Regions from separate parts of the Homo sapiens genome. Here regions 1 and 2 are each linked to region 3. The links are contacts of gene promoters, found by promoter capture Hi-C in blood cells and fetal thymus (Javierre and others, 2016). All regions are on one chromosome and are shown on one strand. Each heading gives the region's core, a stretch centred on a gene start or on the middle of the fragment in contact. The rest is flanking DNA. Distances are from core to core; before and after follow the strand shown.

Region 1 (3,107 bases), core at 471-2,970, 1.5 Mb before region 3:
ATACAGATACACATTTGTAAATAAATATTAGAAAATTAAGCTCATCAGTTCATCAAAAGAATAATACACTTATATTAGGAGCACAAGAATGGCTTAACATCATAGCTGGGCATCATGGTGGGCACCTGTAATTCCAGCTACTTGGGAGGCTGATGCAGGAGAATCTATCACTGTGATCCATTATATCTACCACTTAAAGTAGAAATTTCAGATGCTGTATGGTTGTAAGATAAACCTATAAAAATGAAGAGCTTTTCTATCAGTAATTATCACATAGTACTTTTTATTTTATTTATTTATTTTTTTGATACAGGATCTCGCTCTGTTGCCCAGGCTGTAGTGCAGTGGTGCAGTCACAGCTCACTGCATCCTCCATATCCTGGGCTCAAGCGATCCTCCCACCTCAGCCTCCTAAGTAGCTGGGACTTTGATACAGGATCTCGCTCTGTTGCCCAGGCTGTAGTGCAGTGGTGCAGTCACAGCTCACTGCATCCTCCATATCCTGGGCTCAAGCGATCCTCCCACCTCAGCCTCCTAAGTAGCTGGGACTACAGGCGTGCCACCGCATCCAGCTAATTTTTGCATTTTTCTTCGTAGAGACAAGGTTTCTCCATATTGCCCAGGCTGGTCTCAAACTCCTGGCTCCAGTAATCCTCCAGCGTCAGCCTCCCAAAGTGCTGGTATTATAGGAGTGAGCCACTGCGCCCAGCCCCACATAGTACTTTTAATAATTAAATAAACTTAGCAAAGTCAGTGTGGGCAATATGAGAAGGTCATGGAATGCTAGTCCAAGAAATCTGGTATTTATGAAATATATAGCAGGAAAAATTCAAGATGCCAAATAACATAAATAGGTCTATGTCTTTGGAGATGGATAGCAGTGAGGATTCTGAAGACAGAGAGACCCTTAGGAAATTATTGCAATAGTCCAGTCAAATGGTAGAGGAAAATTGAGCTGAGACAGAGGTCTTTCCAGAGGAATAATCGCTGGTACTGCTTTGGAGAAATAAACAGAATTTGTTAACTAAAGTCCAGACTGGGTAGACTGTTTTTACTACTAGGCTAAGGAACACGGGTGAAGAGAGTATTTCGGGAAAGATGACATTGAGTTGAGTCAAGCTGATTTTGAAGCACTCCCAGAACACCCACTGGTTAGAAAGGCAGATCAGAAGCTTCAAATAAAAGCAGGGACTAAAAAATTAACAGAGAGATTATTTAAGAAGCAACGATTCTGGAGCTACGAGAGGACATGAGGTCACCCAGGGAGAATGTGTAGCCTGCAAGGAAGGCTGAGACAGAACCTCAGAACATGCTGACATTTAAGGGATGGAATGAAAACAGCCGGTCAGTAAGAAGTTCTAGTGGTTGTTGGAGAGCCAAGAGCATGCAGAGCCCCATAAACTAGTGAAGAGATCCAAAAAGGATCACAAACCCAGCAGTTTGGAATGCCAAAGCAGGATCAAGGCGGAGGAGGAGCATTCAGCAAAGCAGCCTGCAGGTCCTTAGGAGAAACAAGTTCAGTGAAATGGGCATCTTGCAGCCCATTAAGCAGAGATAGAAAGTAGGTGGACTAAAGAATCCAAACGGCTTTTCAGTAAAAGTGGGTAAGAGCTTCAATTTGGGGATCAGGTTAACATGGATTCACATCTCAGCTCTACTGTTGGACATTTGTCAATCATTCCATATCTCTGAGCCTAACTTTCCTTATATGTAAAATAGGATAGTCCCAGTACTATCTTCGTAGGAGTTATTGTGACAATGGAGATAATCCATTAAAGGGGCTTAGATTGGCATCTAACATAGTTAAGAGGTCAGTAAACTTGGGGGTATTTGCGGGGCACAGTGGCTCATGCCTGTAATCCCAGCACTTTGGGAGGCCAAGGCTGGTGGATCACTTAAGGTCGGGAGTTCAAGACCAGCCTGGGCAACATGGTGAAACCCCATCTCTACTAAAAATACAAAAATTAGCCAGGCATGGTGGCGCAAATCTGTAATCCCAGCTACTCAGGAGGCTGAGCCAGGAGAATCGTTTGAACCCAGGAGGCAGAGGTTGCAGTGAGCCAAGATCGTGCCACTGCACTTCAGCCTGGGAGACAGAGTAAGAGTCCGTCTCATAAAAACAAAATGAAACAAAACAAAACTTGGGGGTATTATTGTTATTTCAATAAAATAGATGATGATCCCATCTGCTGAGAAAGGGATGAAAGCAGGTGGAAAGGGAGGAACAGCTGCTTACGTGTGTTTAAATAGACTACTTCCCAAAGCTTTTTTTTTTTTTAAATAAAAAATGACCAGACAGCTGAGATGAACTTGAAATAGACCTGGCCATCCAACCCAGCCAGACCACTCTTCCCAGAATCACTCACTGACTGAGCACTGGAGTGGTGGGAGCGGAAGAAATAAATTGTTGGGAGAATTGTTGGCTTGAAGAATGGCAAGGGTTAAAATGATCTGGTGTGGGAAAAGGACAGGATTTGAGCACAATAGGGAGAGCTCACTTAGACTTGGAGGCCGGGGCAGAGTTGTAGGAGTCATACCAGGGAAAGATCAAGCTAATTTATAGGAAGGAAAAAATCTAGAAATGAGGAACTTGAGTCGGAGGGGGTGATTCAGAGAACTGAGCATATAACCAGTCATGCTTCTTCCATTTTTTCGTATGGTCACTCTCTTACCTAGATACCTATGATACATTCAATAATCATTACTTTGGCCAGACACGGTGGCTCACACCTGTAATCCCAACTCTTAGGGAGCCCAAGGCAGGAGGATTCCTTGAGCCCAGGAGTTCAAGATCAGCCTGGGCAACATGGTGAGACCCTCTCTTTACAAAAATTTTAAAAATTACCCAAGCATGGTGGCATTCACGTGTGGTCCCAGCTACTCAGGAGGCCACTTAAGTCCAGAAGGTCCAGGCTGCAGTGAGTCATGTTCATGGCACTGCACCCCAGCCTGGGTGACAGAGAGAGAACCTATCTCAAAAAAAAAAAATCATCATCATCATTTCTTAAAACAACATTAATCATAGGTCACCTTTTTAGAGGCAAGCAGGCATTCTGTTAAACACAGTCCCCATATCAATTCTATGGGTCAAGAAGCCCTTGATGCCC
Region 2 (3,363 bases), core at 692-3,191, 1.4 Mb before region 3:
ACACATGGACACAAAGAAACGAACAACAGACCCTGGGGCCTACTTGAGGATAGAGGGTGGGAGGAGGGTGAGGATCAAAAAACTACCTGTTGGGTACTATGCCCATTACCTGGGTGACAAAAGAATCTGTACACCAAACCCCAGTGACACGCAATTTACTCATGTAACATATCAGCACACATACCTTCTGAACCTAAAATAGAAGTTGAAAAGGAAAAAAAATCACTGATCAATATAGAAATGTTATTTGTAATGCATTTGATAACATGTATTTTACATTGTCTTCTGAATTTTGCCAAAAAAAAAAAAAATGAAGTAGCTTGACTCTACCTAGATTATAAGGTAGAATCAACAAGAATATCCAATGGACAGGTTGTGGAAAGTGAGAAAAATGGAAGATTTAACGACAACTCTAAGCTTTTTAGGTTGAACAATTGAAAGAACAAGAAGTCTCTATAAATATGAACCAGATCCCACATTTCTGACACAATTTAGGACAGTCAGGATATCCCAATTTATCACTTGCTGTTCAATAATAACGATGGTAATAACAATTACTATCTTTTTATTGAGCATTTACTATATGGCAAGGCATTTTATATGTATATTGCATTTAATCCTACACCCACTCCATGAGCTAGACAGATTTTTAGCCCTGTTTTTCCCCATGAGGACACTGAGGCTCAGAAAAGTTAAATAACTTGTCAAGTTCACTTACTAGTGGCAGGGCCCATAATGAAGCCCAGGACTCTATGGCTGCAAGGCCCATGACCATAATGGCATGGCATACTGTCTCTTCAATTCCATAATTTTCTAACTACTTATCATGAGTCGGGCATAGGCTGAGGCATTTTAAATATGCAATTTCATTTAATCTTTACAATAATCCTATGAAGCAGGTATTCTCATTCCCATTTTCAAATGGAAGCTAATTGAAATATCCAAGCCCTACTTCCCTTGTTCCAAAACCACGGTTCTCCAGGAAAATATGATAGAGCATGCTATGGGCTGAATGTTTGTGTCACCCCAAAATTCATACGTTGAAACCCTAATGCCCTATGTGATTGTATTTGGAGATGAGCTTCTGGGAGGTAATTAGGTCATGAGGGTGGAGCCCTCTTGATGGGATTAGTACCTATATATTTATTTATTTGTTTATTTATTTATTTATTTTGAGACAGAGTTTCACTCTTGCTGCTCAGGCTAGAGTGCAATGGCACGATCTCGGCTCACTGCAACCTCTGCCTCCCAGATTCAAGCGATTCTCCTGCCTCAGCCTCCTGAGTGGCTGGGATTACAGAAGTGTGCCACCACGCCTGGCTAATTTTGTATTTTTAGTAGAGATAGGGTTTCTCCATGTTGATCAGGCTGGTCTTGAACTCCCAACCTCAGGTGATCCACCCACCTCAGCCTCCGAAAGTTCTGGGATTACAGGCATGAGCCACCATGCCTGGCCAGCATTAGTACCTTTCTAAGATGAGATGGAGCACTCTTGAGTTCACTCTCCTTTCTCTCTCTTTCTCTCTCTCTCTCTCTCTCTCTCATCCCTCACTCCACCCCCATCTCTCTCTCTTTCTGTCATGTGAAGATACAGCAAGAAGGTGTCTGTGCAAACCAGGAAGAAAACTCTCTCCAAATCAAATCATCTAGAACCTTGATCTTGGACTTCCCAGACTCAGAACTGTAAGAAAGAAATTTCTGCTATTTAAGCCACACAATCTATGGTATTTGTGTTACAGCAACCTGAACTAAGATAGGGCGAGTAGTGTCCCACCCACCTGCCCTGATATTAGCTGGAGGGGAACAAGAAACTGAGTAAAGTGGGAGAGGGAGTACAAAAAGGCACAAGGCACAGTCTCTGCATTTAGGGGGCGTGACTCTCCTGGGGAAGATGATCAATTACCCACAGCCGGCCAAATGCCAATATGTCTCAAGTATGTGCCTTCCTTCAGTGGGTAGCCCACCCACACTGAAGGTTCGCCCCATGCCACAGACACTACTGTACATTGAGGATACAAAGATGGACCAGAGGAAGCTCCCACAAAATCTATGAGCAATGAAGAATTTTGGAGGCATATGCATTCTGTAAATGATTTGCAAGGCTTATTTAAATGCATCATAACTGCTACTGAGCCGAACGTCTATTCCCAGTTCTTTTCCTTAAATGTTAAAGACTAAAGACAGCACTTACCATCTGCTATAGCTTGAGATCTGCTCCTTCCCCCAAGGTCTCCCGACATGGCAGGCCCTGGCTGGCAGTCCCATATGACACAGCACACAACCCACCGGGAACATCTAACAGTCAGAACATCTGCTGGCCTTTTCTCTGCACTTTGCAGCTGTTTTAAACTTGTAACCGTTCCCTCTCTGAGGTCACTTCAGGCTTGTGGACAAACATGAAGTGTCTTAGGGTATTTATCTCAGTCTCCAACGAGTCTGGGTCCTTGGACTTCTGCTTATTTATTTAACAAATACTTGCTAAGCACCGGCTATGTGCCAAACATTGCTCTTGATGATACAATGGTGAACAAGAAAGATGCAGGTTCTGCCCTCATGAAACAAAGTCTACAAGGGAAAACAAACTTTGAGTAAGTTAACTGGCTATTGAGAAGATGTACAGAGTATGGCTATTGGGAAGATGTACAGAGTACACCAGAAACATATCATGGTAGATCTAAACCAGCATGGGGTCTCCTGGAGTAAGTGATATCTGAGCTAAGAAATGAAGCAGTTGTTAGCTGGATGGTAGGGGGGACAGACGAATCATTCCAGGCAGAAGGAATAATGTGAGAAAAGGCCCTGAGTCAGGATAGAGTATGTCAGCTTTGAATAAGAGAAAGAACTATAGAACAAGGAAGAGAGTGATGTAAGATAAAGCAAAGATACTGGATCATATTGGGCCTGACAGGTCATCTCAGGGAGTCCATATTTATCCTGAAGGCAGGGGAAAGCCATTAAATGATCTAAGCAAAGGAGTGACTGGATCTATTTGCATTCTTAAAGATAATTCTAATGGCTGTGTGGGAAGAAATAAGAGAACAAGGAGGAAGTAAATTGCAGTCCTTTGCAATTGTCCAGATGAAAGCTGGCCATTTCCAGTGGCTAAACCATTGGAAATGAAATGGATGGTATCTAGGCATGTTTTTGGTAAGTGCAACAAAACCTGGTGAGAGACTGCATGAGGCCAGAGACATACAGGCAGCCAACAAGCATATGAAGGTAGAGAAGTTAGCATGGAAGCTGATTTAACCTTTTAAGGACAATGGTGTCATTTTGAGATAGGGAAAACTGAAGGAGGGGTAGGTTTGATGAGTAAGGGTGATGAATTCATTTCTAGACATGCTGAATTTGAGATGACTGCAA
Region 3 (3,185 bases), core at 363-2,862:
GTAATCCCAGCTACCCGGGAGGCTGAGGCAGGAGAATCGCTTGAATCCAGGAGGCAGAGGTTGCAGTGAGCCAAGATTGCGCCACTGCACTCCCACCTGGGCAACAGAGCAAGACTCCATCTCAAATACATACATACATACATAAAAGTAGCGGCAAAAACTGCAATCACTTTTGCACCAGCCTAATAATTGCAAGTGTCACCCACCACTTGAATGGAGTCTAAGCCTTATATCCACCTATTTTGGAACATGGGCTGCAGACATCTAGTTATCTCAAAGAGTGTGAGAGATGTTGAAAAAACACAACCATCAGGCCTCAGGAAATCTGAGTTCTCCACCTGGTCCCTGACATTGTTGGGGCAAGTTGCCTTGCCTCAGTTTCCCCACTGGGAAACTTCCAAGTGCTTTACAACAATATAACATTCTTATTAGATCACTACTCCCTTTTACCCAGAAGTTTTACTTTGAGGAATTTATCTTGAGGGTTACCCAAGGATATGTATCAGAATGCTCATCATGTTACTGCTTATAATGATGAAAAATTACAAGCCACCTTATGCTCATAATTAAGGAAATTATATAAACACAGATTTATCTCAAATTGAATATTATGCCACCCTAAAATGGTAACAGAGAGCTTTATGTTTAATAGTTATAAAGTGACAGTAGCAGATTACAAAACAGTATTTAAACTTTCCTCCCAGTGTTTTAAAAAAATTGTGTGTGGTGTTTGTAGAAACATGTCTAAAGTTACTCACCTAAATATTAGCAGTGGCACTATTATGAGTGACTTTTGCCTTTTCTCTGTATCCTTCTGAAATTGTATCTTTGCGGTAAGCTTAAGCTTTTACACTTGGGGGTCAACAAGGCTTCATTCATTTTTTTAAAGACACTTCCTGTGCATTATCAGGGTAACTTCTGCAGTAGCCAGAAGACTAGATGTTACTTAAAAGGTTTTAGGGTAGGTGCAATGGCTCACGCCTGTAATCCCAGCACTTTGGGAGGCCGAGGCACGTGGATCACCTAGGTCAGGAGTTCGAGACCACCCTGACCAACACGGTGAAACCCAATCTTTACTCAAAATACAAAAATTAGCCAGGTGTGGTGGCGTGCACCTGTAATCCCAGCTACTCAGGAGGCTGAGGCAGGAGAATTGCTTGAACCCAGGAGGCAGAGGTTGCAGTGAGCCGAGATTGCACCAGTGCACTCCAGCCTGGGTGACAGAGTGAAACTGAATCTCAAAAAAAAAAAAAAAATGTAGTGGTGTGAACAAGACTTGTTTTTTTCTCAATAAAGCCCATGATTCTCTTTGGCTCTACATTGCAGTTGTAAATAATTTGCCCAAAAGATCCTAATTTCCCCCATAGTTATAGGGAAAACACCAATTCACTCACCTGGAGCTGATTTCAGCAAACTCTGATTTCATGCCTGGCCCACAGGGCAGCTGGCAGAATACCCGGCGCAAGCTGTCAGGAATCAGAGGCCACTTCCTTCCCCAATCCTTCCGTTTCAGCTGGGAGAATGGGACAAGATTCAGGTGCCCCCAATGGGGAGAGGGTGTGGATGCGGCTGGCTTCCTGCTATAAAAACACAGAGCAGCCTACCCTCTACCTGGTTGATCTGGTAGTGTCTTCTGCTATGGCGTGCAGGCAGAGAGGAGGCTCTTGGAGTCCCTCAGGCTGGTTCAATGCAGGCTGGAGGTGAGTAATTCTGGAAGTGGAGGGAGGGGGTATGGTAGCTTTGTTTGTTAAAGTCCATTCTTCCTTGACTATCTCCCTGTCTCTTTCCAGCACCTACAGGTCGATTTCTCTCTTCTTCGCCCTTGTGACTTCAGGGAACTCCATAGATGTTTCTCAGTTGGTAAATCCTGCCTTTCCAGGTATGTCTCTTGGGTGACAGAAGTCTTCTTAGCAGAGAAAACAGGTTGCAGCTGGAAGGCCTAGCTGGCCAAGAAACACAGGCCTGGCTCAGACAACCTCCATTCACCCCCTTTATTACCTTGGTCAGGTTACTGGATCTTTCTTCTGCTAACCTGTAGACTCACTATACCTGCTAAATGAAAACTCAAACACTTGCACTGCCTTCCAATCCCTCACTGCCTCAAGCTTTATGGTATCCACAGAACAGCAAACCACCACACTAAGCCCTCATCTTTAGGAGCAGCAATCTTCAAACACAAACTCATGCTTAAGGAAAACATCGACATAACAAGCAAAACTGGAGCTGCTCACTTGACGTTCACCTGAGCCAGAGGCTGCAGAGTAGCAGATGATGGGCAAAACTTGATCTTTAAAAAAAAAAAAAAAAATGCAGCCAGGCGCCGGGGCTCACGCCTGTAATCCCAGAACTTTGGGAAGCCAAGGCGGGCAGATCACCTGAGCTCAGGAGTTTGAGACCAGCCTGGCCAATGTGGTGAAACCCCATCTCTACCAAAAATACAAAAACTAGCTGGGTGTGGTGGTGGGCACATGTAATCCCAGCTACTTGGGAGGCTGAGGCAGGAGAATCGCTTGAACCTGGGAGGCGGAGGTTGAGGTGGGTTGAGATCGTGCCACTGCACTCCAGCCTGGGTGACAGAGAGACTCCGTCTCAAAATAAATAAATAAATAAATAAAAGTCCTGGGACTTACCCAGGACTTTGTTTAACATCAATTTGCAAAACCTGTTGACAAAGCTTTTGTCAGTTTTTCGGGCCTGCCTCCATCTGCTCCACTGTCAAGGTGTTGACCTGGCTCCTACAGACCTGCTTGTCAACCCTAACCTGGGCTTCTTACTGGAACACTTCAAAAGCCCTGGGTACCTGATATTTTCCTTACAGTTCTTGGCATATTGTATTGTTGTCTTGGTCACTTGTTTGTGAGCTCTCCCAGGGTAGGGGACGATTCTTGCCTCCCTCATCTGGAATCCCTCCCATCTGAGAGGAGTCTATACACTTTTGTAGGAGTTGCATCACTCATGACTCAAAGCCCCCAAATGCTTCCTTTGCTCCTTAGGCACTGTCACTTGCGATGAAAGGGAAATAACAGTGGAGTTCCCAAGCAGTCCTGGCACCAAGAAATGGCATGCATCTGTGGTGGGTAGGTAACGTGTGTTATCTCCTCATAGTCCTGATTAGCAGACAGCCTTTGGCTTAGGTCAATCCTGTTTGGGGAGCAGAGTACCCAAACTCCTGCAGCAACGGCATC

The links. Contacts are between HindIII fragments. The CHiCAGO score rates a contact against its expected background, and 5 or more counts as called.
Region 1: a contact is called between a fragment that was not itself captured here and the fragment with the promoter of ZP2 in region 3, in 13 of 17 cell types (total B cells, naive B cells, total CD8 T cells and 10 more). The highest score is 14.8, in total B cells.
Region 2: a contact is called between a fragment that was not itself captured here and the fragment with the promoter of ZP2 in region 3, in 5 of 17 cell types (total CD8 T cells, total CD4 T cells, naive CD4 T cells and 2 more). The highest score is 11.8, in total CD8 T cells.

The regions. Positions count from the first base shown.
Region 1 is chr16:22,693,294-22,696,400 of GRCh38, reverse strand. No RefSeq gene overlaps it. Among named protein-coding and RNA genes, the nearest start is that of LINC02890, 81 kb to the right of the region's middle. The HindIII fragment of the contact is 1,092 bases long and covers 1,175-2,266 here.
Region 2 is chr16:22,641,455-22,644,817 of GRCh38, reverse strand. No RefSeq gene overlaps it. Among named protein-coding and RNA genes, the nearest start is that of LINC02890, 30 kb to the right of the region's middle. The HindIII fragment of the contact is 3,044 bases long and covers 420-3,363 here.
Region 3 is chr16:21,210,001-21,213,185 of GRCh38, reverse strand. ZP2 (zona pellucida glycoprotein 2) reads left to right here and starts at 1,612. Exons shown (of 19, transcript NM_001376232.1): 1 at 1,612-1,700; 2 at 1,791-1,879; 3 at 2,994-3,077. The coding sequence starts at 1,639. The HindIII fragment of the contact is 1,261 bases long and covers 847-2,107 here.